7 separate regions of the Homo sapiens genome follow, and all the other regions are linked to region 1. The links are contacts of gene promoters, found by promoter capture Hi-C in blood cells and fetal thymus (Javierre and others, 2016). All regions are on one chromosome and are shown on one strand. The core of a region is centred on a gene start or on the middle of the fragment in contact, and the rest is flanking DNA. Distances in the headings are between cores, read along the strand shown. Region 1 holds the start of SLC7A11 (solute carrier family 7 member 11). Region 2 overlaps ELF2 (E74 like ETS transcription factor 2). Region 3 overlaps LOC105377448 (a long non-coding RNA gene). Region 4 overlaps LOC105377448 (a long non-coding RNA gene). Region 5 overlaps LOC105377448 (a long non-coding RNA gene). Region 6 overlaps LOC105377448 (a long non-coding RNA gene). Region 7 has its middle 240 kb from the start of NOCT.

What was found. The method cuts DNA at HindIII sites, captures the fragments that hold promoters and counts their contacts. A CHiCAGO score of 5 or more calls a contact.
Region 2: a contact is called between a fragment that was not itself captured here and the fragment with the promoter of SLC7A11 in region 1, in 1 of 17 cell types (erythroblasts). The highest score is 5.1, in erythroblasts.
Region 3: a fragment that was not itself captured here is called in contact with the fragment with the promoter of SLC7A11 in region 1 in 4 of 17 cell types (M1 macrophages, monocytes, M2 macrophages and 1 more); the score reaches 7.2 in M1 macrophages.
Region 4: a fragment that was not itself captured here is called in contact with the fragment with the promoter of SLC7A11 in region 1 in 2 of 17 cell types (M1 macrophages and M0 macrophages); the score reaches 6.5 in M1 macrophages.
Region 5: a contact is called between a fragment that was not itself captured here and the fragment with the promoter of SLC7A11 in region 1, in 1 of 17 cell types (M2 macrophages). The highest score is 9.5, in M2 macrophages.
Region 6: a contact is called between a fragment that was not itself captured here and the fragment with the promoter of SLC7A11 in region 1, in 3 of 17 cell types (M2 macrophages, megakaryocytes and M1 macrophages). The highest score is 8.1, in M2 macrophages.
Region 7: a contact is called between a fragment that was not itself captured here and the fragment with the promoter of SLC7A11 in region 1, in 3 of 17 cell types (M0 macrophages, megakaryocytes and M1 macrophages). The highest score is 6.8, in M0 macrophages.

What each region holds. Positions count from the first base shown.
Region 1 is chr4:138,240,358-138,244,592 of GRCh38, reverse strand. It overlaps SLC7A11 (solute carrier family 7 member 11), which reads left to right and starts at 2,244. Exons shown (of 12, transcript NM_014331.4): 1 at 2,244-2,800. The coding sequence starts at 2,524. RefSeq lists enhancers at 1,990-2,229, 1,699-2,898. The HindIII fragment of the contact is 788 bases long and covers 2,064-2,851 here.
Region 2 is chr4:139,077,225-139,081,459 of GRCh38, reverse strand. The region is part of intron 4 of ELF2 (E74 like ETS transcription factor 2); the gene reads left to right. Among named protein-coding and RNA genes, the nearest start is that of NOCT, 64 kb to the right of the region's middle. The HindIII fragment of the contact is 4,123 bases long and covers 221-4,235 here.
Region 3 is chr4:138,962,876-138,967,110 of GRCh38, reverse strand. The region is part of intron 2 of LOC105377448 (a long non-coding RNA gene); the gene reads left to right. Among named protein-coding and RNA genes, the nearest start is that of NOCT, 51 kb to the left of the region's middle. The HindIII fragment of the contact is 3,484 bases long and covers 492-3,975 here.
Region 4 is chr4:138,945,977-138,950,211 of GRCh38, reverse strand. The region is part of intron 2 of LOC105377448 (a long non-coding RNA gene); the gene reads left to right. Among named protein-coding and RNA genes, the nearest start is that of NOCT, 68 kb to the left of the region's middle. The HindIII fragment of the contact is 2,077 bases long and covers 1,222-3,298 here.
Region 5 is chr4:138,920,822-138,925,056 of GRCh38, reverse strand. All of the region lies in intron 2 of LOC105377448 (a long non-coding RNA gene), which reads left to right. Among named protein-coding and RNA genes, the nearest start is that of NOCT, 93 kb to the left of the region's middle. The HindIII fragment of the contact is 793 bases long and covers 1,876-2,668 here.
Region 6 is chr4:138,864,412-138,868,646 of GRCh38, reverse strand. All of the region lies in intron 2 of LOC105377448 (a long non-coding RNA gene), which reads left to right. Among named protein-coding and RNA genes, the nearest start is that of NOCT, 150 kb to the left of the region's middle. RefSeq lists an enhancer at 2,059-2,560. The HindIII fragment of the contact is 9,708 bases long and covers 1-4,235 here.
Region 7 is chr4:138,772,693-138,776,927 of GRCh38, reverse strand. No RefSeq gene overlaps it. Among named protein-coding and RNA genes, the nearest start is that of NOCT, 240 kb to the left of the region's middle. RefSeq lists a silencer at 1,658-1,841, a cis regulatory region at 3,413-3,430 and an enhancer at 3,350-3,494. The HindIII fragment of the contact is 2,135 bases long and covers 970-3,104 here.

The sequences.
Region 1 (4,235 bases), core at 995-3,494:
GCTATACTTAAAATAAGGCCTAATACAGGATGAAAAATATGTATTCATTTGCTTTGAACACATTTTTATGATACACAAGTATTTGAGGACCATCCAAACTCTTAGTTTACAAGCTTAGAACTGGCAATTTTAAGAGTTCAAGGCAATTCAACATTTTCTTTATAAACTGCATTTTCTACAGATTTTGGGGTGCTTAGAAGAGGTACACTGGTGCCCTTAGCAGCAATGTGCAGCTTTGCAAACATTCTGAGTGGTGGCCTCTATCTTACATGAAAGTACAATCCTTTTGGTTTTTAGTCTAACATCAGCCATTTTTCTTCATAATTAAAAAAAAAATACTGTGAGGAGGAAAATGTTATTTAATATTGAAAGAATAATCGTCCTTTATAATTCATTCAGTTTCCTATCTGAGTGGGGTCTTTGGCTCAACTTATGAGTTCAGTTATTTATAACAAAATTTAAAATTAAAGTGTGACACTGTGTTAATTAGAGAAAGTTGCTGTTCCCTGAGATTCCTAGTGTCCTACTTTTACCTCATATTTCTTCAGAGCTAATATGTTTCTCTTACTGGGAAAGAAGAGCTGCTCCTTAGGTCCATTAATCAGGAAAATTGTGTGAGTGAAAGGAGATGTAGGAGGAGGAAGAGAATTGGAAAGAAAAGAATCTCTATTTAGCTTCCTTCTTTGGGAGTTTTAGCAGGATTGCATGAGGAAAATGATCCATTTTTGTTTTTTGAAAGACATTAACAACTGAGAAAAAGTATTTATTTTGGTTTTATAAAAACTTTAACTTGGTGTAGCTGAAACCAATTATATAGAATTTAGATAGATAATTTAAAAAGGAGAAAATGTAGCCTCAATTATTTGGATGGCAAAGCATTGAGGTGGTGTCATTTTCTCAGGTGTCAACATAACAGAAAATGGTTCTGACCTTTTCCATGCTACTTTCCTAATGGCGATTTCTCATTTCTTTCTTTGATCATCCTCACCATACTTGACTCCCTTCTTTCCCTGCCAACCTCTCGCACACAGGCTTTTTGTTTGTGGTTTTTGTTCAAAGGTTCAGAAGCTTATTTAATGGTGCGTATAAAGGTAGCTTCAGGGTAATGATAACATTCAATTCTTCTCACTGAATCCAAAACCACATGTAACTATAGCCAAAAATGATATCTAGGATTTCTTTTCTTTTCATATTTGTTTTTTCTTGACACTTGGTTGAGAAAGTTAGAAGGGTTTAAAAATGTTTTGCCTTTTTGACTATTGCAAAGTAAATATTTTAATTTAGCTTACATTTTTAATGCATTTTAAATTTATAATAATAACAATAGTTTATATAATGTGGAAAAAAGTCATACATAATATCATTACTTTCTATAACTACCATTCTGTTTTCCTTTACAGGCTTTTGCTATATACATATTTTTATGTAATTGTAATTGTGTAATTTTGAACTTAGAAATTTTTTTTGGTAATTCAAAGGAACAACATGACAATGAAGGATATGTATCTTTTACATAGTTCAAAAAAATCACCTAGTGCTAATGAGAATCAGAAAATGACTATTTTCTGGAGTCATGGTGAATTTTGTATTAGTCACACTCGGATGGTGATTTAAAATACTGGTTTATTATGAGTAGTAAGAAATAATTTTATCTTTTAATGTTGAGGAAGGCTTATAGTTGTGTGTATGTGACAGAAGTATAAAGTGTAGAATCTTTAATTTTGTAAATATTGGATTTGACTGTATTGCCTTATAAAAAACTCAAAATAAAAAAATAAAAAGCATTACACAAATTATGAAATTCAAACTGTGTTGTTATAAACAATGTAGCTTTAGGATACATTCTACTCACAAAACAGTCGCATGTAAAATGTTTTTATACACGCATTAAAGAAAAAGAAACTCCTTAAAATGAAGTAACTATTTCCTGTTTCATTTTGTTTGAACAGCTTTTGTTGCTCACTACGAGTTGCTTTAAATCTCTGGGAAGGTCTGTTCCGAATTTACTACTTCTGGATTGGCTAAAATCTCTTTAAAGTGTGTGCTTTGTTCTCTAAAAAGCTTAGGTCAGTTGAGCAACAAGCTCCTCCTGTTTTTTTCTTTTTTTAAAAAAAAGAGCTGAGTAATGCTGGAGGCTTCTCATGTGGCTGATGCAAACCTGGAGAATTTGCATCATCATTTAGCTGTAGTAAGTTGGTGTGACAGGCAGGCGCTTAAATACAAGCCCATGAGGAAGCTGAGCTGGTTTGTAATGATAGGGCGGCAGCAGCAGCAGCAGCAGCAGTGGTGGAACGAGGAGGTGGAGAATTGAGAGCACGATGCATACACAGGTGTTTCTGAGTAGTAATTAGATCGCTGTGAAGGAAAAAGCACACCTTTGAGTTTTCACCTGTGAACACTATAGCGCTGAGAGAGACAGTCTGAAAGCAGAGGAAGACATCGATCAGTAACACCAAGAGACACCAAAGTTGAAAGTTTTGTTTTCTTTCCCTCTGTTTTATTTTTCCCCCGTGTGTCCCTACTATGGTCAGAAAGCCTGTTGTGTCCACCATCTCCAAAGGAGGTTACCTGCAGGGAAATGTTAACGGGAGGCTGCCTTCCCTGGGCAACAAGGAGCCACCTGGGCAGGAGAAAGTGCAGCTGAAGAGGAAAGTCACTTTACTGAGGGGAGTCTCCATTATCATTGGCACCATCATTGGAGCAGGAATCTTCATCTCTCCTAAGGGCGTGCTCCAGAACACGGGCAGCGTGGGCATGTCTCTGACCATCTGGACGGTGTGTGGGGTCCTGTCACTATTTGGTGAGTGCGACTTTTTCTCTCGTGGGGGCGTGGCTGTGGGGCTGGAAAGCTTGCTTTCTGGGAAAGCAAATGGTAGTTTTTGAGGAGTGAATGGATGGCAAAGGCCACACCAAATTTTTAAAATTTTTGTTCGGGTACGTGAACTACCCAGATGCAGCATCCGCTGTTGGTGTGATCTGGAACACCCTCAAATTGCTTCCTACAGGCTGTACTTTCTTTTCCTGACTAAGACAGGCTATCTTCTGACTTTTCTCTGTGGTGATGAGAGCAAAGGCTAACTTTCATGACCCAGTAAAAAACATGCACACTTTCTGTGCCGGGCAGTTGTACACTTAGCTTGGGCATTCTGGCAGCTGGCATGCTGAATGAGACACCTGTGAAGTGGAACCTGGCATGGGCTATTTAGACATAGAACGGAGTGTTCAGCAGAAGTCTTACTGACTTTTTATTAGCCAAACAAATGGGTGGCAGTCTTTATAAAAATATTTTTTAAGTTCATGTGCTTGTCACCTCTTAATATCCTTTCAAAAGTCCTTGACATGGGAGAGATGTATGATGGCGCATAACTCAATCCCTATCATAATGGGGTATATTGCAATGGCCTGAGCATATTTCAAATTACTTTTCAACCTTTCATCTCTTCTCAATACCCATACACTTTTGCAATATAAGTTTTAAAACTTCAGTTGGGCGTTAGTTTTCTGTACTTGCCCAGATCTGTTTTTTTCATTATATTTCACTTGTTCTCCAGGGACACAGAGAATTTGTCCACCTGTTCACTAAATTAATCTGAAGGGAACTGGCAGAAGTATAATTATGAATTTTTCTTCAAAGTTTATGTCTCTTCTATTGATCTGAGAATTAATAGTAAAGAGGTAAATAAATGCCCCCTTATGGAGTAGGCAAATTACTAGAGAGCTACCTGAGTTTGTTGTAAAGATGATAAAAACTGGTGAACTGTCAAACATTAAATTTGATTTATGCTATGAGGATTTATTTACTCTTCTTGGGAAAGATTCTGTACTTTAAAGTTGCTCTTTGTCTTAACTCTGGGACTAACACTAACTAACAAGTACTAACGCTAACTCTAGGACTAATTAACAAGTACTAACTCCTGTTCCCATGTGTACCAATCAATTCATTCTTTCTACTCAGGCCTTGTGATGTTTTAAATCATTGGTTTGACACTCATCTAGAGAACTCAAATTCCATTTTTTTTTTTTTTTTGAGACAGAGACTCGCTCTTTGCCCAGGCTGGAGTGCAGTGGTGTGATCTCGGCTCACTGCAACCTCCGCCTCCCAAGTTCAAGCAATTCTCCTGCCTAAGCCTCCCGAGTAGCTGGGACTACAGGTGTGTGCCACCACGTTGGGCTTATTTTTCGTATTTTTTAGTAGAGATGGGGTTTCACCATGTTAGCCAGGATGGTCTCGATCT
Region 2 (4,235 bases), core at 1,033-3,532, 840 kb before region 1:
GGAGATAAGCTTTAGGTTAATATTTTCAGCATAACATGTTTCTAAGCAAGTATATAACACTTAATATTATCACTGTCGCTACATGTTAAGGTACATGTTAAGCTCGAATATACTTTTGCTTTTCTTCCTTTTGAGGTGTTAAGTATCACATGTGCATTCCTTTAGCTATAAACATTTATGCTGCCAGAGGAGTTTGAGTAAAGGATGAAATAAATAAGCTTATTTATTAAAACTCACTGTCATTTTACAAAGTATGTTTGTAGTAAAGACTCGACGTACTTTAAAATTTCATGGACAATATGATGTATGAGAACGAGCCTTGACCCTGAAGAGTTGAGGATCTATATCTAGCTGTCACTAAACTAGCTAGTGACTTAACATCTTTAGGGCTTCATTTTTCTCTAAGAAGACAGGGTTGACTAGATGATTGCTAATGACTTTTAAAGCTCTAAAATAAGTGGCTTGGAAATACTTAATGGAAAGGTAGGGCTTCTCCTTGGGTTTTTTTTTTTTTTTCTAATATTACACCATGTGAATGAATATGTCTATAAGTTCGTTATGTAATTGGTAGGTTAACTTCTTTTATCCAGTCTTTGAAAATAAAAATGTGTGCCAAATTGGAACTTGAGGCTCTTTATATGTTTAAGTCTGTAATATAGTCTAATTAATAATTTAGGCTCATTTCTAGTGTATATAGCTTAATATAGGAAAAACAAATGTCTAGCATTGTTACTTTCCTAATATTTATGTTAAAGTATTGTGTATGAACAGTCTGGATTTTCTGGAAGATTTCTGCCTTATTCTCAAGTATACCTTTCTTGACTTTTTCCTTTATTTGTCTTTTCTTATTTTATTTTATTTTTACATTTGCGAAATAAGGTAATCAGAAGTTTTGGTCAACAATGCAGTTATTAAATGAAGGTGAAATTTTTCTGGAAATTTAGCCTAAATATTTTCACTGACAGAAAACAAATCTATTTTATTAAAGTTCATTATGAAATTGAAAATCTCATTTCTGATTTACTATAAATTGGAATATGTAGTCTCAATCTTGAAAAGATCAAATTGAAAAAAAATTAGCAGTATGAAAAGAAGTTAAAAGCAGTATGTGAATAGATACATTAAAATGAAACTCAAGGAATGACACTAGTTTTCTTTTTAAAAAGCTCATTTGAAAATGAATTTAAGAAATTACCCTTCACAATTCATTGCAGCATTGGTACTAAAATTCATGTAAAAACTGAGTTACATGGTCACATCAGTCAGTGTGTAAATAGCCAATCAGAATCATTCAACATAAAACTATTTTAGAAACAAATTTGGTTGGTGGAGAAGGGCAGGCAGCAGAATGTTCTTGATAACTATTTAAAATAATTCCTCATGTTTGATAATTGTTTAAAATGATTCCTTGTGTCATCTATAGCAAAATGTTCAAAAGGATGCAAAGAAATGCTTAAGAAGAGCTTTTTAAAAACCATTTATCTGTGAGTAGACAAATACTGTTTTACTTACAGAATCATAATTTTTATTTTTTTTACATTTATTTTATTTTTTGAGATGGAGTCTCCCTCTGTCGCCCAGCCTGGAGTGCAGTGGCACAATCTTGGCTCACTTCTGCCTCCCAGGTTCAAGTGATTCTCCCACTTCAGCCTCCCAAGTAGCTGGGATTACAGGCGTGAGCCACCACTCCTGGCTAATTTTTGTATTTTTAGTAGAAATGGGGTTTTACCATGTTGGCCAGGCTGGTCTTGAAATCCTGACCTCAGGTGATCCACCTGCCTTGGCCTCCCAAAGTGCTGAGATTATAGGTGTGAGCCACAGCTCCTAGGCTAGAATCATAATTTGTCATCTACACCCTGATGTTTATGTTTAGAAGCTAAAACTTATATAAGCATGGGGATAGAATTTGGTTGTTATTAATTACAGTTGATGAATTACAGCTGCGCTTCTCAAAAACCAAACTCTCTGACCCGGATTCTGGGAGTCCCAAGAGCCTTTCACAGGATCTGTAAAGACAAAACTGTTTTGAAAATAATACTGGGACATTATTTGCCTTGTCACTTTCAAAAGTGTACAGAGGAGTTAGGAGCTATGTATAGATGGGTTATTCCAATAGATTGAAAGAGGAAGGAGAATTCAGCTGCCTTCTATTGAATCAAGTATAATAAGATTTGCAAAAATGTAAAAAACAAAGCTACTTACTTTTTGTTTTTTATTTTAAGTTATTTTTGGCCAGGCATGGTGATTTATGCCTGTAATCCCAGCACTTTGGGAGGCCAAGGCAGGAGGATCTCTTGAGTCTGGGAGTTTGAGACCAGCCTGGACAACATAGTGAGACCCTCGTCTCTAAAAAAAAAAATCAAAAAATTAGCTGGGTGTGCTGATGCGTGCCTGTGGTCTCATCTACTTGAGACGCTGAGGTAGGAGGATCACACCCCAGGAGATCTAAGCTACAGTGAACCATGATCATGCCACTGCATTCCAACCTGAGCAACAAAGCGAGACCTTGTCTCAAAAAACAGTTATTTTTCATAAAAAATGTTATTTATGGTTGCAGTAATGGGTGTATTATTTTAAATGAATTAATAATTTTGAAGTTTTCTTTGTAATTTCAAATATGATAAATACAGATAAAATCTCGAGGTCTTCAGTATTTTGAGTGTAAAAGTGTCCTCAGATAAAAAAGGTCGGAGGATAGCTGAATTACAGTGTTGTTTAGGTCTGTACTGTATGGTAGCCACTAGCCGCATGTATCTGAGTACTTAAAATGTAGCTAAGAAACTCAATTTTTAATTTTAATTAATTTAAACTTAATTTCTGGCTGATCTCATCTTGCAGAGGGCAGTTCGCTCTCCCCCTCCGAGAGTGTAAAAAAAAAAAAAAAAGAATTGCCATTCTTTTTCCTTTTTATACTTTATAATGCAAGTATATTGATTAAAAGGTCAAGGGGGAAAAGGTGAAGATGGAGTATTCCAGACCTTTAATTACCTTTTCCCCCTTTTTATTGCCTTCATTTGTATTCTTCATTTACCTATTACTGGTATAGCTTTGGGGCATTAGAGGATAAGTAGTGGTAAATCGGGTGCTGCAGTTGACTGAAGACCTTGTACTATTAGTTTATAGTGTTGCTTATAGGAGAATACCACTATCACCTAATGAAGTGTTTTCTAATTTTTTTTCACTGCTCTCAAACTAAATTGCTACTAAATTTTATTTTTGACTTGAGAACATTTTTATGAACTAGATCCATTGCCAGCATTCTTTTATGCAAAGCTGAGAGGTATGCCTCTTGTCAGACTTAATTACCAAGTTTGGTATTTTGTAACAGCTGTTGAGTGAGTCTGGAATAGTCTTCAGTACCATACAAACACCGGTTGATTAGAAAGATAGAAATGGAACAAGAAGATATTTACCAATATTAAATGAAGGTACAAGCAAATATTATTTTTGGTACTGTAATAAAAAGTAAAACAGTTCTTGAAATTTATTTCAAGGGGGATTGACCAGCAATAGCCACTACCAGTGGTAACTAGAAAATGATACCTGTCAGACTACTTTTAGCTTCATTGTTTCTATTTTTAAAATGAGTTATTTATTTTTCCTTCTATAAATTTCATAGATGTAGAAAGATACCAGTAAGTCAAGTTTTAAGTAAGATAAGGAATTCTACTTTTCAGCTCTTGCTTGTAGCTTGCTTACTTTGATTGCACAACACTGTTAAATTCATGCTTATTCTTAAATGTGCAAAATTATAGTTTAAATTTTATTTGAATTATTGATCTGAACAAAATAGTATTTTTTTTTTAATTACAGACACAAGTAGGAGAAATATTTCTTAAATTTCTGTTAAAAGTTACTTGACTTATGTAAACAAAAATAAAAAGATAGTGCTCACTTTTACAAAATGTGTTAAGTTTTGGAAACTGGCATTAGTACATTATTGTAAATTGATCTGAGAACAGCCTCTTAGATTTTTGTATTTTGCATTATTTTAGTTAGTAAATAAAAATGATGAGATAAAATTAGTAAGCAGTAAAAAAGTAATCAGTGTTCCTCTTAACATGCTTGTAACTTACAAAGTAAGTTTATTTTACATTTTTATTTAGTTTTGAAATATCTTCCATTTAATGCTCTCTGAACTGTAGATTGAGTGTTCTAAAATCTGAAACTGAGCACTGATGTGACACTCGAAGTGCTCATTAAAGCATTTTGGATTTTTAGATTTGGGATGTTCC
Region 3 (4,235 bases), core at 984-3,483, 720 kb before region 1:
ATAACCTACAACTGAATGCAAATGAAAAGCATCATGGAAACAAGAGTCTCAAAAAAAGTAAATTTAATGCCGGGGCCATATGCTACAATACCAATTTGCGTACTTATTTTCTAGAAAGAAACAAAACAAAAACATATTCTTCTGTGTTACTTACATGGCTTTGGATATTGAAAAAGCAGAATAATTAGATTTTCATTTTTAAATCTTCCTAAATAATGCAGAATAAAAATGTCATTTCGTTTTTGCTTTTTAGAAGATGGTTCATACTGAAAAATATCATTTCTTTCGTATCAGAAATTTGAGACACATCGAAAAATTGAGAAATATAACTTTTAGAGAAACAATAAAATTTGGACATTAGGAAATCCAATAATGCAATTCACATGTTAATAAATTGAAAGAGCTCAAATGATGATCTCATTAGATGTTGAAAAAGCACTCAATAGAATTCAACGTACATTCTTTATTTGAAAAGAAACTATTAACAAGCTTTGATAAGGGCAGAAGCCACTGTAGATATAATGATGAAACATCAGAAGATTTCTATTGAAGATGGGAGCAGGACAGGGATTCCACCATCATCATGTTAGGGATTTTTGTTTCATATTGTTTTCAGAAGCATATTCCAAATGAATTAGAAATTCAAATATTCTGTAATCCCAGTACTTTGGGAGGCTGAGACGGGCAGATCACCTGAGGTCAGGGGTTCAAGACCAGACTGGCCAATGTGGTGAAACCCCATCTTTACTAAAAATACAAAAAAATTAGCCAAGTGTGGCAGCAGACACCTGTAATCTCAGCTACTTGGGAGGCTGAGGCAGGAGAATCGCTTGAACCCGGGAGGCAGAGGTTGCAGTGAGCTGAGGTCACGCCACCACACTCTAGCCTGGGTGACAGAACGAGACTCTGTCTCCAAAAAAAAAAAAAAAAAATTTCAAACGTTAAAAACTTTCCATGAAGGCACTAGAAGGTAGTATAGGAGAAGTGTTTTTGTTTGTTTGTTTTTTTGTTTGTTTTGTTTCGTTTGTTTGTTTTTTGAGATGGAGTTTCACTCTTGTTGCCCAGGCTGGAGTGCAATGGCGCGATCTTGGCTCACCGCAACCTCCGCCTCCCAGGTTCAAGCGATTCTCCTTCCTCAGCCTCCCGAGTAGCTGAGCTGGGATTACAGGCACGCGCCAACACGCCTGGCTAATTTTGTATTTTTGGTAGAGCTGGGTTTCTCCATGTTGGTCAGGCTGGTCTTGAACTCCCGACCTCAGGTGATCCGCCCGCCTCTGCCTCCCAAAGTGCTGGGATTACAGGCGTGAGCCATCGTGCCCGGCCTGTTTTTTTTTATTTTTTAAACGAACTTGGGGGTAAAGATGGCCTTTCAAAAAAGTCTGAAACCACAAAAACCATGAAGAAAAGATGGACAGATCTGTCCTCATAACTATTTTAAAAACTTCCATTTAATGAATGATGCATAATTAAAGCTACGTGTCAAATAGCAGAGAGAGGAAGTGTTTTCACAGAACCATATGAGAACCATAATATTTAAAGGGATTCAAATTGCAAGAAAAAGTAAGTCAAAAGAAAAGGGCAAACTTAAGGCAATTTACAGAAAAAGAAATATAAATGGCTGAGAAACATCTGAAAATTATTTAATCTCACAACTAGGGAAATACGAATAAATACAATAATAATATGCTACCTTCATTCTCCAAAATAAAGTAAAAATATAATCTCACATTCAGCTGATGGAAGTGTTCGTTGTTGTAACCCTTTGTGGAGAGCACTTTGGGAATATCTCTCAAAACAGTAATGCTCAGGCTGGATGTGGTTGCTCACGCCTGTAATCTCAGTGCTTTGGGAGGCCATGGTGGGAGGATTGCTTGAGGCCAGGAGTTCAAGGCCAGTCTGGGCAACATAGCAAGACCTCGTCTCTACAAAAAATAGAAAAAATTAGCCTGGCATGGTAGTGTATGCCTATTCAGGTCCCAGTTATTCAGGAGGCTGAGGTGGGAGGATCGCTTGAGCTTGGGAAGTCAAGGCTGCAGTGAGCTGTGTTACTGCACTCCAGCCTGGGTGACAGAGTAAGATGCTGTTTAAATAAAATAAAAGTAAAAATAAAAATAAAAATAAAATACAACAGTAACGCTCACACGCATTGATTCAGCAACATATGTATAATGCACATGGATATTTATTACAGCAGAGTCGGCATTAAAGAAAATCTGAAAATAGCCGAACTGTGAAAACTAAAAACAGCTACCAAACACTTATGGTTCAGTGATAACTCTACATCTGCAAAGGAGAGTCAGGCAGTGCTGGATGTATTGACACAGAAGATGTTTCTGACTTAATATTAAGCAAGTTTCAGAACAATATGTTTAATACAATCCAACATATGTAATAAAAACATAAAAGATTTATAGCACCTATATGTGTAAATAGATACAGATATATAGAAAAAGTCTGGAGGGGTCCACTGTGAACAGCTAATCATTGCTTCCCATAGAAAGTATGATGTGCTTATGAACGTGACATGTTTTCAGAAAAAAAAAAGTATATTGTGGTGAGTCTCAACCCTATCGGGCCTGAGGAGAGATGAACCGAGATTTTGACTTTTGTACCCTGTATACCTCTGTACTGTTAGAATTTTTAGACAATAAATGTACATTTGTTGTATAAAAAATTAATTATAAAAAGAGAGAAATGTAATTCATATAATGTATAGAGCATTGTTGTTTTTCTTTTTTTTTTTTTGAAATGGTGTCTCACTCTGGCCCCAAGCTGGAGTGCAGTGGCGCGATCTCAGCTCACTGTAAGCTCCGCCTCCCGGGTTCACGCCATTCTCCTGCCTCAGCCTCCCGAGTAGCTGGGACTACAGGCGCCCACCACCGCACCCGGCTAATTGTTTGTATTTTTAGTAGAGACGGGGTTTCACTGTGTTAGCCAGGATGGTCTCGATCTCCTGACCTGGTGATCTGCCCGCCTCGGCCTCCCAAAGTGCTGGGATTACAGGCGTGAGCCACTGTGCCCCGCCGAGCATTGTTGTTTTTCATAAGCAGACATTAGAATGCAGCCAATGTATATGAAATGATTTAGAATTTTTATCCATCAGTCTAAAAAAAATAGTTTTCATCATAGGTGGGAGAATTATTTTTTCATTGATAAAATATTTACTTTCATTAATGTCAGTTAACTTCATTTGCTATTTCTCTCCTTGGAAAAGTTGCCTGCTGGGCCTTCAACCCTGGCTCCTGAGAAAGGAATCTGAGTATAGGCAGAACTCAACTAAATGCAAGTTTCTTTTATCGGAAACTTAGTGTTAAAAGAAAAACGTGTAGAGATATTGCTAGCTGGTTGAAGTCTGTTGTAGAGTATGATGGGTTATTATGAAATTTCAAACACCAGAGGTAGATTTCTCCCTCCCATCCCATCATTTCCTCCCTCCTGATGTGATTCTGATGAGTGAAAACAAGAACTAAGTTCAAGTTGAAAGGTCATTAGGAATATTTAGACAATTCCTACGTCACTAGTGAGGACCCTTTCCCTTCCCTCCCCTCCCCTCCCCTCCCCTCCCCTCCCCTCCCCGTCACTTCCTTCTTGTGACGATTAATTTTATGTGTCAACTTGACTGGGCTAGGGCATGCTCATATAGCTGGTTAATGTTATTTCTGGGTATTTCTGTGATGGTGCTTCTGGAAGAGAGTGGAATTTGAATCAGGAAACACAGTAAAAAAGATCACCGTCATCAGTGTGGGTGGGCATCATCCAATCTGTTGAGAACCCAAATAGAACAAAAAGGTGGAGGAAGGGCTAATTTGCAATCCGCTTGAGGTGGGACACCTGTCTTCTCCTGCCCTCAGACATCAGTGCTCCTGGTTGTTGGGCCTTTGGGGCTGGACTGGAACTACACCACTGGCTTTCCTGGGCCTCCAGCTTGTAGATTGTAGATCACGGGACTTTTCAGCCTCCATAATCACGTAAGCTTATCCCTCATAATAAATCTCTTGCTATGTATCTGTGTACAGTTGATCTTTGAGCAACAAAGGTTTGAACTGATGGATCCACTTATAAGTGGATTTTCTTCTGCCTCTGCACCCCTGGAGCAACAAGACCAATCCCTCTTCTTCCTCCTCAGCCTACTCAACATGAAGATGAGGATGAAGACCTTTTTATTCTTTTCTTTTTTTTTTTGAGACAGAGTCTCACTCTGTCACCCAGGCTGGAGTGCAGTGGTGCAATCTTGG
Region 4 (4,235 bases), core at 1,011-3,510, 710 kb before region 1:
TGTAAAGTTAAATGGAGAAACTTTAAAGCAGTCATTTAAAGTGAGTGAATAGGGCCCTAAGAGGGAATCTTCTCCAACTCCTTCATTTTACAGACGCCAGGTGTGGTTGCTCCAGGCTGCAGCCAGGGTAGCTGGCTAGAGTATTGCTTCCCAGTGACGAAGTGCGCAGAGCCCCTGCCCTCGGGTGCTTCCCACCTATCTGGATGTTTGTAAGGCTTTGTAGGCCAAAGGATGGCTATGTCTAGGGTAGGAGAGGAAGCAAGAACCCTAGGTGTACTTTTTTCTGTCTGTCCCCTCTTTTCTTCTCACATTCCCTCCAGATTAGAAGAAGTGAGCTCCTTTATGTCTTATCCTTTCCTACAAGAAGCATCACAGCTGAGTTTGGGTGATCAACTATTCCAGTTTGCCCAGGACTGAGCTCAGTGCTAAAACTGAATAGTCCTGGCTGGGCACGGTGGCTCATGCCTATAATTCCAGCACTTTGGGAGGCCAAGGCGGGCGGATCATGAGGTCAGGGGTTTGAGACCAGCCTGGCCAACATGGTGAAACCCCGTCTCTACTAAAAATACAAAAATTAGCTGGGTGTGGTGGCACATGCCTGTAGTCCCAGCTACTCAGGAGGCTGAGGCAGGAGAATCGCTTGAACCTGGGAGGTGGAGGTTGCAGTGAGCCCAGACTGTGGCATTGCACTCCAGCATGGCCAACAAAGCAAGACTCCATCTCAAACAAAACAAAACAAGCAAGAAAACTGAACAGTCCTGGGCAAACTGGGACAAAGTTGTCACCCTAGGCCTAGCTATCCTAACCCAGTGGGTTTTATTCTTCATACATTGAGAGGAACTCTGTGAAATGAGTCTGGTCCTGTGGACTTGGTTTTATGTGATGCTATAGACATTTAGGAAATCTCTTCAGCTCAGCAGAGCTCAGATAGGGGAATTACTATTTCTCTAAGGGGCATTTGGGGAAGATTGTGAGTGCTGTTTATTGCAACCATAACTGGAGTGTGCTACTGACATTAAGTGAGGTGAAGCACTGCCCATGGCAGTCCTCATAAGGAATAATTGTCCCACTTAAAATGCCAGTGGTGACCCATTGAGAAACTATGCGGGACTGCCTAACCCTGTTTTTCAAGCTCCGAGTCTTGCTAAAGAAGTCAAATCTCCATTCTGTCCTTCTCTGGGGCCCCTAGCCTCAGTGATGTCTCCTGGGAGGTAAGAAGCTTCTAGAGAGTGTTATTTAAAGGAGAAAATTACATGCAGAGGTTTAATATTTGTGAAATGTTATCACTTACAAAACAAAGGCCTCAGACTCTCTGTGATCAGTGAAAAAGGGCTCTGCAGCAAGAAGTAGACTTCTTAGAGAGGAGAAGAGTATGGGACAAGAGTGTTGTAGAATAGAGTGTCCTGAAAAGTAAGATGGAGCATAAAGCAGAATGAGTCTCCTCGCCATAGAGGCCAATGCATCTATGAGAAGAAACAAGAGATCAAGTCCAGAAACTTCTGTACATCCTTTACAGGTCAATGCATAACTATGCATATAGTTCTCGTAACAGAGCAGACCCATTTGTTATCGTCATAAAATTCCAACTGAAAGAAAACATTCAGGCATTGTAATATAAATTTATCTTGGATGGAACAAATTTAGCATCAACATTCTGAAGCTCAGAGTGAGCAAAATGGCTAATCACTCCTGATAAAATGCTGTCTTCATGAGGCTTTTCTGGCCCTGCTGCTGGAGGTAAGAGCCCTTGTAACAGAGCCAGCTCAAAACAATTTCTGGTTTACATAGAGGCTCTTTCTTTGTTATATGTAATAGTCAATTTTCTTTTCTTTCTTTCTTTCTTTTTTTTTTTTTTTTTTGAGACAGGGTCTCCCTCTGTCGCCCAGGCTGGGGTGCAGTGGTGCAATCTTGGCTCACTGCAACATCCGCCTCCTGGGTTCAAGTGATTCTCCTGCCTCAGCCTCCTGAGTAGCTGGGATTACAGATGCCCACCACCATAGCCCAGCTAATTTTTGTATTTTTTAGTAGAAATGGGGTTTCACCATGTTGGTCAGGCTGGTCTCGAACTCCTGACCTTACGTGATCCACCTGCCTTGGCTTCCCAAAGTGCTGGGATGACAGGCGTGAGCTACCGTGCCAGGCCTATATTAGTCCATTTTTATACTGCTATGTAGAAATACCCAAGACTGGGTAATTTATAAAGAAAAAGAAGTTTAATGGACTCACAATTCCACATGGCTGGGGAGGCCTCACAGTCATGGCAGAAGGCAAAGGAGGATCAAAGACATGTCTTACATGGCGGCTGGCAAGAGAGTTGTGCAAGGGAACTGCCGTTTATAAAACCATCAGATCTCGTGAGACTTATTCAGTATCATGTAGGGATTATGGGAGCTACAATTCAAGATGAAATTTGGGTGGGGACACAGCCAAACCATATCACTATAACAAAATTGTTATAATATTCAGTTTTTTTGGAATGTATTCATCCATAAGCTCTCCAATATTTATTTATTTATTTTTTAGAGTCAGGGTCTGGTTCTGTCACATAGGCTGGAGTGCAGTGGTGCAATCATACCTCACTGCAGCTTTGAACTTCTGGGCTCAAGTGATTCTCCTGCCTTAGCTTCCTAAGTACCTAGGACTACAGGCGTGTGCCACCATGCCCAGCTAATTTTTGTATTTTGTTTTGTAGTCTCAGGGTTTTGCTATGTTGCCCAGGCTTGTCTTGAACTTCTGGCTTTAAGTGATCCTCCCACCTCAGCTTCCCAAAGTGCTGGATTACAGGATTGGGCCACTGTTTCTGCCCCCATATTTAACAAATGTGTAGCAGGTCATGTACATAGGCTCACTTAACATCTAGTGCAACCCCCTTCTAGCCTGTCTTCCTTTATAATAGAAGCAGAAAAGCTAAAAATATTTCCCAGACTCTTTTGTAACTAGGGTTCTAGTTTCCACCAAGCATGACCAAATGTCTGGTTTCCCTTGAGCAGTCTGGTTTATGCCTGTTGTCCTGGCATAATTATTGAAAGGGTTTCTCCTTCATGCTCATAGTCACCAAAGGGACTTAGAGTGGTGCTGATGATTGGCTGTTTTGGCAAGTCTGCAGGCATTAGTTCTTCCAGGGCAGGTGGCAGAGTTTCTGATGTGTTACAGGTGATGATTGGCATGGCAATGGTGACAATGCTGTTTCTGCTGGACTAGTCACATGGAATGGTTGGGCATTTTTCTGGGATGCTTTGTTTCTGGCTGTGAAGCATCTAAACCTATTCCCCTGGTCTTCCTGAAAAGTCTATAAGCTTCCCAGTATATTTACCTTATTCCATCGATTCTAAGATGTACATTTCCCCCACTTTTACATTCCTGAAATTGGGATGCTTCTTATAATTCATGACATATTGTAATTTAATTAGCAATAATATATCTTTCTTAATGGATTATAAAACAATGATGTGCCTTAACAAATAATGACATCTTAGCTTCAATGAAAAACAGTAATAAATGCCTTATTGCTTGTCTTTATCTGCTTGGGCTGCTGTAACAAAATGCTATAGACTGGGTGGCCTAAACAATATAAATTAATTTTTTCATAGTTCTGGAGGCTGGAAGTCCCAGACCAAGGTTCCAGCTGATTCTGTTTGGCTGAGGACTCTCTTCCTGGCTTGTAGATAGCTGCCTTGTCACTGTGTCCTCATGTGGCCTTTCCTCAGTGTGCGTGTGTGTAGAGAGAGAGAGAATCTAAGAGTGTTGTCTCTTCTTATGAGGGTGCTCATCCTATAGGAACAGGGCCCCACCCTTATGACCTCATGTAACCTAATTACTTCCTTGGGGCCCCATCTCCAAATACAGACACACTGAGGATTAAGGCTTCAACATATAAATTTTGGGGGATGCAAACATTTAGTGCATAACACTGATTAGATCATAATCAAGTAGATTATATTGTTTGCAGGTGAATATCCTGAACCATATAGAATGTTAAAAAAAAAAAGGAACTTAACATGGCTGGGATAAAGAAACTTACAAAAGTTTCCTAGATCACTTATCCTTTTTAAAATTCTATCTGGTTTTCAAAAAGATATTGTACAAATGGAGACTTTCTGATAGAGAATATGAAATATTTCACAATACCTAACAGTCCCATAAAAACCCGTATTACTTGTTCATTTCTAGGGTGGCCTTAGTTTTTCTCTGTCATTCACCTTTCACTCTCTTGCTATATCTGAATTCCTCCCCTC
Region 5 (4,235 bases), core at 1,023-3,522, 680 kb before region 1:
TGAAGAGATGACATGGGTATCGTTTGTAGATATCTTTACCAACATTTGGCCACCATTTTCCTTGACCTCACATCATTCTAATGTATTCCCAACATTTGCCATTCTCCCAAGAGCGCCTTAAACGTCAGAGGAAGGAGGCACAGGACATAATAACATCTTCTTGCACTTAGGATCATTGCTCAGGAAATTTTAAAGCACTTACCAGTGTAAGCGCCCTCCATTTCTCTGATAAAAATAATGAAAAGTGCTTGGGTTTATGATGATGGGCCTCTGTAAATTCTGATGATGGTGGACACATACATTTATAGAAAGAAAGTTTCTCTGTATAAGGTAACATTTCCAGGTCCTTCCTGCTGGGAGACTTGCTTATTCTCCCCCTTCTACTTCCTCTTCTACTCCTCTTCCTCCCCCACCTCCTTCTTTTTTCTTTTTTTTTTTTTTTTTGAGACAGGGTCTCACTCTGTTGCCCAGGCTGGAGTGGAGTGGTGTGATCGTGGCTCACTGCAACCTCGACCTCTCTGGGCTCAGGCGATCCTCCCATCTCAACCCACCTGCATAGCTGGGACTACTGGCACATGCCACCACACTCTGCCAATTTTTGTATTTTTTGTAGAGAAAGGGTTTTGCTGTGTTGTCCAGGCTGGTCTTGAACTCCTGGGCTCAAGTGACCTGTCTACCTTGGCCTCCAAAAGTGCTAGAATCTCCTTTTTTTCTTTTTATTTTCTTTCTTTTTCCCTTTAGTTTTGAGAGAGAGTCTCACTCTGTCGCCCAGGCTGGAGTGCAGTGGTGTAATCTCGGCTCACTGCAACCTCCATCTCCCTGGTTCAAGCAATTCTTGTGCTCCAGCCTCTCAAGCTCACACCATGCCTCGCTAATTTTTGTATTTTTAGTAGAGACAGGGTTTTGCCATTTTGGCCAGGCTAGTCTTGAACTTCTGGCCTCAAGTGATCCTCCTGCCTCCAAAAGTGCTGAGATTACAGGCATGAGCCACCATGCCCGCCTCCTTTTTTCTTACATTGCTTTGAAGAAATAAAAATCTTTTTCAAATTGATTACTTTGATTATTCAATTTGCTTCGATGTGACCTCTGATCATAGGTTGTATAACAGTGGTGTAGTCTTTGCAGTGTTTGGAAGGTCTCAATGACAACCCCCGTTCCTTGGGTTTAGACAATAGTCAGCATTCAGATTTATTCACTCCTTTTTTTTTTTTTTTTTTTGAGACAGAGTCCTGCTCTGTCACCCAGACTGGAGTGCAGTGATGCAATCTTGGCTCACTGCAACCTATGACTCCTGGGTTCAGACGATTCTCTTGCCTCAGCCTCCCGAGTAGCTGGGATTACAGGCGCCCACCACCACTCCCAGCTAATTTTTTTGTATTTTTAGTAGAGACGGCGTTTCACTATATTGGCCAGGTTGGTCTCAAACCCCTGACCTTGTGATTTGCCCACCTCGGCCTCCCAAAGTGCTGGGATTACAGGTGTGAGCCATTGTGCCTGAGCTTATTCACTCCTTTCAAAATGGTCAATTAGTTTCCAGATACAAATGAAAATGAGAGCTGATCTGGCATGGGGTGGGAGGAAGCTTTTAGGCTCAACTGGGTCTTCCAGGAAATCTCCTCTCCTCATTTCTTTCCTCCTCACCCCTTAAACTGGGTAGAGACTCCTCTTAGCTGCTTCCATAATACCCCTACACATATCTCAATCATTGCACTCACACCTTTTTTTTTCCTTTTGGCTGTATTACCTGGTGTTACAAGGGCACTTATTAATCTTTGTTAACCAAAGTTTAATGGCCAGACTAAAATATTTCAATTGCAGTGATTTTCTAAGATTATAATTCAGAGTCGTAAGAATTTCCAAATTAGTAATAAAGCTTCTTTATATACTATTAGTACATTTCTTATTCTATTAGCAGAAACATAGAAAGTAATATCAGTGAGGACATCCACTGTGGGAAGCAATTCGATCAAAAAATCAGGGAGTGCAAACCCGAGTGTCTGCTTTGGTCACTTAGAGAGTGTACACTTGCTCATTGCAGATATTGGAAAGTAAATGGGGGACAATTTGAGGGAATCACTGGGTCCAGAGAATAATTTCTGATTTCTCTTGTCTGTCCCCTTTTACGTTAGGCTCTGTTATTTTTTAAATGTCTGGATTCTGGATGATAAGGTTAGAATTGGTGCTGATTTTATCACCGGGATGATGTATCCTTTAGATTTTCCTTTCTATTTTAGGGTTTTATGATTAAGATGAATTTCAAAACTTAAGCAAATATTAAATTCAGAATAATCAGTCTGGGCTCCTATGAAGTCCTATGTGTGTTCTCTCCCTGTGGTACGGATGGCCTGTCTCTCCAGGCACCTTCCTGGCCTCTGCTTGGCATTCTTCCCATGGGCATCTCCATGGGCATGTCCTTGCACTGCACATTTCAATTTCTGGGAGGATGCCCATCTCTGGGTGCTCTGATGTGCACCTGGTTTTCATGCCTTTCCTAAATGCTCCCCCAGCCCCATCAGTCTCATGGCGGATACTGCCTGAAAGGGCCTATCTGGCTCAACCCTCATGTTGTTATTACTTTCTTTCCAAAAAGACCTATTGAGCATCTACTATATGCCAGATTTTGGACCAGGAAATGGGGACACAACAGAGAAAAACATAGACTCAAGCTTCTGGACTTTCAAGATTCTCAAATTTTTATAGCTTTTGCTGAAGAGAAACTAAGATCTATTCAGCTTTAAAAAAAATGTTTTTAAATTTTTTTATTTTTCGAGATGGGGTCTCGCTCTGTCACCCAGGCTGGAGCACAGTGGCACGATCTTGGCTCACTGCAGCCTCTGCCTCCGGGTTCAAGTAATTCTCCTGCCTCAGCCTCCTGAGTAGCTGGGATTACAGGGGTGCACCACCACACCCGGCTAATTTTTGCATTTTTAGTAGAGACAGGGTTTCACCATGTTGGCCAGGCTTCCATTCAGCTTTAAGATGACATCTTTTTTTCTAGCATGATTTCCTTTGTGAATCCACAGGGGAAAAATAGGAAATTAAAATGCACAACTGTAAAAAAAAATCATAAACTTTTCTTTCTTTCTATTTTTTTTTTTTTTTTTTTTTTGAGACAGAGTCTCACTCTGTTGCCCAGGCTGGAGTGCAGTGGCACGATCTCGGCTCACAGCAACCTATGCCTCTCAGATTCAAGCAATCCTCCTGCCTCAGCCCCCCTAGTAGCTGGGATTACAGGCACGCGCCACGATGCCCAGCTAATTTTTGTATTTTTACTATAGACAGGGTTTTGCCATGTTGGCCAGGCTGGTCTCGAACTCCTGACCTCAGGTGATCCACCCACCTCAGCCTCCCAAAGCACTGAGATTACAGGTGTGAGCCACCATGCCTGACCAAATCATGAACATTTTGAGCCTCTTTTATCACCTGTAAAATTATGGCAACATTCAAAATACCTAGACTTATCAATTTAAACTTTTAATGTACCATTATTCTAAATGAAATGATTAATTACATGACTTTGTATGAAAAGAAAAATAATTGTGGTTCTTTCCTACCCCGAACACCTTCCACTAAAGTAAACTTCATGTGTGCCACACAGCCACGTATAACACCAGCTATTTTAGTGCCAATAACAAATAATTAGTTTGATTATATAGATTGTTAATGTGTTATATATATGTCCTCTTCCTAGAGGGTGAGGACTCTTTTTCATATTTGAGTAGCTAGAACATAGAAGAGTTCAATAAATATTTGTTGAATAAAGGCAGATGGAATTTAGGAAGCATAAAAATGGGGTGACCCTTTCCTTTTTTTTTTTTTTTTTTTGAGACAAGGACTCACTCTGTTACCCAGGCTGGAGTGTAGTGGCTCAATCTTGGCTCACTGCAGCCTCAACTTCCCCGGGTTCAACCCATCCTCCTGCCTCAGTTCCCCAAGTAGCTGGGACTATAGGTGTGAGCCACCACACCTGGCTAATTTTTGTATTTTTTTTTTTTTTATAGAGATGGGGTTTCACCATGTTTCCCAGGCTGTTCTTGAACTCCTGGGCTCAAGCAATCCACTCACCTTGGCCTTCCAAAGTGCTGGGATTACAAGCATGAACCACCACACCTGGCCTGACCCTGTTTTGAAGTATGGTGCTTAGGATGGAAAGAAGGGAATGAAAATAGAAAGCTAAGGGTCCCATACATGTATTGCATGTTTACTCTACCTCTAACTGTGCTAAGTACTTTGTG
Region 6 (4,235 bases), core at 1,000-3,499, 620 kb before region 1:
GTCAGACTCATGAAGCAAATGGAATACAGTGTAGATCCTCTGGGTTTCCACATTTCAGCCACTTTTTCTTATGAGTTATTTGCTCTGGTCAGCATGTTGCAGGAAACACTTTTCAATGTGGTCTCCTGAAGTCCCCTTACTGGTCTGGGGGACCACACCACCCTACTCCCCAGGGAGGTTTTCTGGGTACTGACAAGACTTACAGCAGCATAGCTCTCTCCAATGATAAGAGTCTCACCAAAACTCACCAAAATTCTCTCTTCTCTCTGCCCTCTTTTCCTATCCTTATCCAAATGCAGATACCAAGAATTGTGGAAGGGATTGGGGGGTTATCTCTGTAAATCTGCATAAGGGAGGTCTGTCCCAATCACTTTTATATCATTAATTGTTTTGGGCTCATCAGTAGAAATGGAGGTGAAAGAGTCTCATTCTAATGTCCCGTTTTTTGAGGACTGAATGACATTCTATGAGTGAACACCAAATGGGACAAGATCTCTGTCAACTATCAAATTTTGTGCAAATGTCACTTCTTAGCATCGCCATTCTCTGCTAATATGATAATGGATTCTTATTACAACTACTGTCAAGAAGGATGGAAAAACCCTTTCCAGCTTGAAAACGTACTTTCTGGAAACAGTGCTGCAGATCCTGGGAGGATTAGTGAGTGGTCATCTGTAGTAGGAGAGCAGTTAATTTCGGATGCTGTGTCAGAGATTAGGGACAGTGGCAAATTGTGTGCTGTGATTGTGCAGTGGAACTAACCATGCTGTGGAGACGTTCCCTATGCAAGTTGTATGAGGGCAGATAATGACAGGCAAGTGACTGCAACCCGAGGCGGTTGTGTCTAAAGTCAAAGGGAAATTCAGTCAGCTTCACTTAATAGCTAAAGAATGAGAGGCCGAGGGTGGCATTCCAGGCAGAGGCCTTGGGAGTGCAACTGGAAAGGAGAAGGGGCTGCATGGGGCGGGCACGTGTGTGGTGGGTATATAGTGTGTGTGTGCACAGTGTGTGGAGTATACAGTGTGATGTGTGGTGTCGAGTGGTGTGTGTGTGGGGGGGTGTATAGTGTGGTCTGTGTGTGGTGTGTCGTGTATACTGTGGTGTGTGTGGTGTGTGTGTTGCATGGTGTGTGGTTTATGTGCATTGTGTGGAATATATTGTGTGTGGTGTGCATGTGGTGTATAGAGTATAGTACGGTATGTGTGGTGTGTTGGGGTGTGTGTGTGTGTGTGCATGTTGTGTGAAGTATAGTGTGGTGTGTGGTGTGTGTGTATGTGTGTGCATGGTGTATGGTGATACTGTGTCGGAGTGTGTGTGTGGTGTGTATGGTATATGGAGTATAGTGTGTATGCGGGTGTGGTGTATAGTGTGTGTGGTGTGTAGTGTATAGTGTGTGATGTGTGTGGTGTGTGGAATATAGTGTGGTGTGTGTGTGTTTGTGTACATGTTGTGTGATGTACAGTGTGTTGTGTGGAGGATAGATGGTGTGCAATGTAGTATGTGGGTATATGTGTGTGGTGTATGTATGCTGTGCTGTGTGTGTGGTGTGTATTGTGTGGTGTGTGTGTGGTGTATGCATGCTGTGCTGTGTGTGTGGTGTGTATTGTGTGGTGTGTGGTGCCTGTGTGCCTATAGAAGATGGAAAGGTGTCCTCAGAGATTAATTAGACGCTGACTTGGTCTGACAGAAAGTTGAGGGAGGGGAGGTCTTAAGAGTCAATGTGGAGGTTATACTTGATAAATAGTGAATGTTGAGTCAAATTGGGTTCCCTCAAATCAGGTTTTTCATCACAAAAACAGCACATGCATGCAGCAACACATGACGCATTCTAAAATGTGCATACATCAAAGGCAATGTGTCCCACCGCCGTCCTGCTCAGCTGCTCCAAACTTGTTCCCTTTGTTCCCATCCTGGCCCAGCGCAAGGCTCGATTTCACCCTGAAGTCACTCTCTAGTGCTTGTGTCTCACCTGATTAGGGCCAAGGTGGCAGCTCATGAGTGTCTGGTGTTGCTGGACTGGAGACTGGGAGTTTTCCACTGGAGGGTGGTTGGGAGGCAGGCACAGGGCTGTGCTGGGTAGACTTGGGGAAGCAGATCAGTGCCACTCCACAGGGGACACCACCGGGTGACAACAACCCTTGGTGATGGGTGGTCCTCACCTTGGGGCAAAGCGGCAACACCTCAGCCCCTCTCAGCTTGCTGCAGCTCCCTGGGGCCTGCTGGACTTTCTCTTCTGTGGGGGATCATAGCTGCTCCTTGTCACCCACTCCTGCCCCTGTAATATGCCTCCTCCATTTCTTCTCTATAGACATGGGGGTTCTACCTAAACCTCTGCTCTGTCAGTGTATGGCAGAATCTTCCTGCCCTAGATTTAGGGCAAAAACAAATTTTTTTTTCTTAAAAATTGAGTATTTGCAACATTTTTCTTGTTCTGTGGTCTGTGGTTCATGCCAGGGTAACTATAAAGGGGTCTGGTGAGACTAGATGGGGGAGAAACATAACGATTAATAATGTGAAAGATTCCAATATGTATAATTTAAGAGTGAAAGCCCATCATCATGTCATCCTTTAGAGAAAACCACTGCTTACATCTGCTGTGTATTCTTTCACATTATTCTAGGACTATAATGACGTGCACGAATAAGATATAATTATGACAGTATTATTTACAGAAATGGGATCTTCCTGAAAGTACTCTTCTGCATATTGCCTTTTCCACTCGACACATTCGGACATCCTTCCACACTGTCCGCTGTAAATCAACCTCAGAATCTTAGTGGGGAGGAGGAGGAGGATAGTATTTTGGGGAAGTTGCTCAGGCAATTCTGATAGTGAATCCTCCCTCACTCCCCAGGTGCTGCGGCGTGACCCCTCTGTGATTACAACCCCTGCTCTCGCTGCTCCATGCCCACAGGTGCTGTGCGTCAGTGCCACATCAGCATGCTCTTGATCACTTTCTTGACTTTAAAAGCGTCCTCTTCCCTCCCTCCCTCCCTTCCTTCCTTCCTTCCTTCCTTCCTTCCCTCTTTCCTTCCTTCCTCCTTCTCTTTATCATTTCAAAAAACCACTGAGTATAAAGGATACCATTAATGTGGAAAAAAAGAAACCACAGAAAGGCTTTTCTCTACCTTTTCTTTCCTGTAGATAGAACTGTAACTGAACTTTGAGCGCTCTGAGGAAGGAGACATACTCAGATGCCCACCAAGTAACCCAAGGTCGTGCAGTCTATAGAATGTGGCTTTTTGCCCCTTGGGAAAAAGCCCAGGAGGATCAGGGCTGTCTGGAAGGAGGCTCTGCATGGAGCCTCATGGCTGAGCAAGGAGTCCTTTAAAAGTAACATTCCTTCCTGTCACTGATATTAGGTTTTCTCACAAGGTGTATTTGTGCTTCTGCCTAACAGCATAGAAGGAAACAATGCAAACAGAACCAGAGCAGCCACTGAACTCCTGTGATGTTGTCACTAATCCGGTTGGTGTGGAGAGGAGCCAAGCTGCCAACCGCGTCCCCCACCCCCACATCGCCCTCACCGAGTGCTTGGGTTCCTGCCTCTATCAATCACAAGGCTTATATTCCGAGGCTGGAGGTGGTGCCTCTACTCAGCACTACCTCTGTTTTCACACAACCTCTATTCTAATCTTCATGGTCAGGGTCAACAACAGCATTTCAGCTTTTCCCCGAGACAAGGGAGATAGTTCAGCAAATATCTCTCTAACTTCAATATTCTGTCTCTGTCAGATCAATAAGGAACATTTTTTGACAAGTCTGATGTTCAGTCTTTAAGAGGAAGATAACCTTCCTGAGTGGAGAGAGGAAAGATTTCTGTGCCATGACATGATGACTCTTGACTTTCATCCTCAGCTTTGTGGAAAGTAGTGTTTTAGGGTAATGGGTGGTTGGTTGACTCCTTTTGCCTCTGTGACAGCTTCTTTCTACAAGGACTTTTTTCTTAAGCTCAAATACCAAGGCTAGTAACAAGCATTACAAACCATGACACCAGCAATCCTCAAGAGGAATAAGGAAAAACAAACAAAAAAACATAGCCAGCAAGTAAACGGCATTCTTTGATTTTCTTAGGAATAAGGGACACCGTTCTACTACGGTGTCTCAGGAGGAGTTACCCTGACACAATGGGTGAGATTTCCATTCAGTAGAAAGTTAATCTCACTGTTTTACAATCCTTTCTCTAGTGTTTTATTTTGGTGACTCTTCCTTTCCATTTTACCAATGAGAAATTT
Region 7 (4,235 bases), core at 788-3,287, 530 kb before region 1:
TTTTGCTTTTTCACATATTTATATATTTTCCTGGAAACGTGATAGACTCTTTTAACTTGGAAACTCAGGCTCCTCAATTCTGTGAAGATTTAATTTTTGTTTATCTGGTAATTTTCCCAGTTAACTCTTTCTGGGGTTGTATTTGTCGCAAGTTTAACTGGTATCAATTCTCTGATCTTCTAAGTACTATTTTTTTCTATTTTCTATTCATTTTTCTTTGATCTACTTTCTGAAAGACTTCCTCAGCTTTATCTTACAAAACTTTAATTAATTTTTAAATTTCGGCTTTTATGTTTTTAATATCCAAGAAGCCCTTTGTTGTTGATGAATGTTCTTTTTTTTCTTAAAAAACAAAAAACAAACAAAAAAACCACATTGTCCTTTCATTGGTTTTTTTAATAATTTTGTCTGTTTTTTTTTCCCCATTGGATGCTTTCTGAGGATGTATGTTTTAGTCATTCTGGACTGTCTATTAGCACACAAAAGTGCAACAGCTGCAGCTATTGGAACTGTGTGTGCAGAGGTGAGGCTTGCTAAGACGTGGGCTTTAATTTTGGGTAATTGGTTGGGGCTGTTTCATTGATGGATATCCCAACTCTCAGTATTTATAGGTTTTTTTCTTTTCCCCCTTCTTGGCTTGTTTCTGTTTCCTCAGAGAAGAATTACTCAACCTCTCACTTAGGGTGTGTGTGTTGGGGCGTGGGTAACAAACGAAGAGGCCAGGATTCTAGGAGCTGAGTAAGGCAAGAGGGATGAGGGATCTCATTGAACCTTGTGCTAAATTCCTCCCAGTTTCCTGTTTTAGTAGGGTATTCCTCAGCTCTGCCGGCTTCCCTGAATCTGGAGATTGTCAGGGTTCAGCCTCTCAGTAAATTGCCAGCACAGAGAGACAGTCACCTGACAGTGCTACTCGAAAGAGGAACTGGGGGAAGGGTTTCACTGCTTCATAGAGGGATTTTCTTCAAAGCTTCTCTGTCTCAGGGGTGCCCTTCTTCTAGACTTCATCGCTGTCTTCTACAGCCTTCGTGCTGCCTTCTGTTGGGGAACATTTACCTCGTCTGTTCTGCACATAGAGAGATGTTTATTAGAACAGCAGTTCTCAGAGTGTGGCCCAGGGATCTCTGAGGGATGGAAGGTCAAAATATTTTTTCTAAAAACACTAGATATTATTTGCTCTTTTCACTCTCATTCTCCTGTAAGTGTGCAGGGGGAATTTTCCAGAGGCAACATGACATGTGATATCACAACAGATCGAATGCAGAAGCAGCTGTGATAATCCAGCTGTCTTCTGTTAAGGCAGGCATTACAGATACTCTGTAAAAATGAACAACAAGGACACTCTTCTCATTATACTTTTTGGTTTGGAAGAAATTATTATGTTTCATACAATATGTTATTCACGTTAACATCTACTGGGTTTAGTAATAGTATTTAAATAAATAAATACTAAAAAGTATCAGTTTTATAGTAGATATTTAAATATATAACTAGCATGAACAAAAGCTCTTTGAGGTCTCCAATTATTTTTAATAGTGTAAAAGGGCCTTGAGACCAAAAAGTCTGAGAGCACTGCGTTGAAAACAATGCTTCTGGATTCTTTTTTCTCGTCTTGACTCCCCCCCAGGCAACAAGGAGTGACATACTTAATTGGGGAGAGCTGGGAAGGAACTGGGCAGGCATAGCTCAGCCCTTTCTGCTCACCTTTCTTTGAGGAAATCCCAAGATCTTAAACTGAAGTTTCGCCTGTCTGAAGCAGAGTATGTGCTCTCTTTAGCTCTCGGCCCTGTGTAGGCTTAGAGCCTGCTGGCTCTATTCTGTGGTAAGACTTGAAATGGCTCAGTATTGCTTGCAGTTATATTAGGTAAATCTGCCCAAATCTGAAGTCAGCAAATTTATCCAATTCAGGCAGAATAAGCTATGCTTTCTAATATCGACTTTATCAGCAATCAAGGAGATGTTTAACTTAAAAAGTTTAATTTTGAAATAATTTTAGACCTACAATTTGCACGAATAATACAGAGAATTTCTGTATGTTCTCCCCCAGCTTTCTTTAATGTTAACTTTTTACATAACCACAGAACAAAGATAGAAAGCAGGTGATTCATAATACATTACAATTAGCTAATCCATGGAACCGTATTTGAATTTCATTACTTTTTCCACAAATGTTTTTCTAGTCCAGTGTCCAATGTAGGATTCCAGATTAAAGGTGACATTTGATCTTCCGTTGTCTGGCATCCGTGTCTATGTCATAGTACTCCACTGAGGAAAAAGGAGGGTGTTAGTTATCAGTCTCATTTGGCTCCCAGGACCTCCAAATCTTGTATCTTTCTGGGATTCTATGATGTGAAAGAGTTGGCTCCTATTGTCTTCTTACCTCTCTCCTCCAGCATGATAGTTTCCAGCCTTCTCTCTTTGACTAACTCAGTTACCAGGGGTCCACCTCCTTTTCATCTTCCAGAATTTTGTGGATTCTTCTCTTTTGTTGTTGTCTGCTGTCTTGTTTGCTGTGATTTGCTTTCTGAGAGACTTTTTGTGTGTGTGTGTGTGAGACAGAGTCTTGCTCTGTTGCCCAGGCTGGAGTGCAGTGGTGTGATCTCGGCTCACTGCAACCTCCACCTCCCAGGTTCAAGCGATTCTCATGGCTCAGCCTCCTGAGTAGCTGGAATTACATGTGCATACCACCACACCTGGCTAAATTTTGTATTTTTAGTAGACGGGGTGTTTCACCATGTTGGCCGGGCTGGTCTGGAACTCCTGACCTCAAGTGATCTGCCTGCCTTGGCCTCCCAAAGTGCTGGGATTACAGGTATGAGCCACTGTGCCTGGCCGAGACTTCCATTTTTCTCTCCCCAGTCTAGGGCCAGTGGTCAAGCCCCGTTCATGCTCTGAGAACTTGAGAGTTAATGTATTTATTTATTCCTTTAATATTAATATTGGATAAATTTCAGAAAAAAAGCAGAGATAAATGAATAGGTTTAATCTCCTTGTTTAATTACGAATCTGGCTCCTGATGTATAATCCCCAATTTGTACATTATTTTTGCTTTTCAATTGAAAACCTTATTTAAATAGATTTAATGATTACTGTACTTAAATGAAGCTTCCTAATTGCTCTTAAGTCAAATAAAGGCTATGAAAACATTGGGTAGCTTTTTCACAAATTTTACAGATATGTTGATTTATTGTAATCAAACACATCTAGGCCCTGATTAGAATGCTTTTTGTAGCTTACCTTGCACTTCTTAGCTTGGAATCAAAAGCCATGTCCAGGGATTTGCTTTATCCTTTAGGCTTGGCTGGTATCCTGGTGCCTCCAGCTACTCACTTCTCAGAGATCAACTGTGGGTCTCTCCTCCTCTCCTCCTCTTTCAATTTCTAAAGGAAGGATTGCTGGAAGGAAGAAACCCTATCTTATCTCTGGTTCCCAGCTCCCAACTTTCTTCTATCATTTTCTCACACTCAACTGAAAAGGAAGCGTGAGGTTATAGCGGTGCAATACTTTTCTTAAAGTATTCGATTATCCTTAATTACTTTTCCTTGAATTAAATATGAATTAAAAAAGTCTAAACAGTTTATAGTGTTTATAAGAAGAGTAAAATATTCTCTTTCCATCTCTTATTTTTAAAAATTACCTTAGCATATATCTATTCCTTGTCTTTATACTTTTGCTTTGTAGTTAGTTAGTTTCACATCTATAAATAATGTGTTACATTACTTGTTGTGGATTTTAAAATGGCATCCATAATTTGCTCTTGGGATGGAGGGGAGGAGTGGGAATGGGAGTGGAGAAGGGGCTCTAGGGGACAGTATCTTTGAGTTTAATCCTTCACTTCTTGTAAGATAAAGATCTGAAGCATATATAACAAGATATTAATGTTTGTTTATTTTGGGTGGCAGAGAGGAGTGTTTATGATATAATTTGTACTCTATTTTTAAAATAATTTTTCAAATTTCAAAGTTAACATTTTTCAAACCTAGATATAGCTTCATTTTAGTAGGAATAACAGCGATTACTTGGCCTTTTGTCATCTGAGAAGGAATCATTTTTCATAAGTGTAATGATTCTATCCAACTGAAACTTAACTTACAGGTATGTGAACTATATTTCCCAGGACACTTCTATGTTGGTACGGGAGAATATAACAACAGTTACAAAGCAACATTTCTGTATATCCATTCTCATTTGGTCTGAACAAGGTTCAGACCTCTCAAATTTGCCAAAATAGTCTGAAA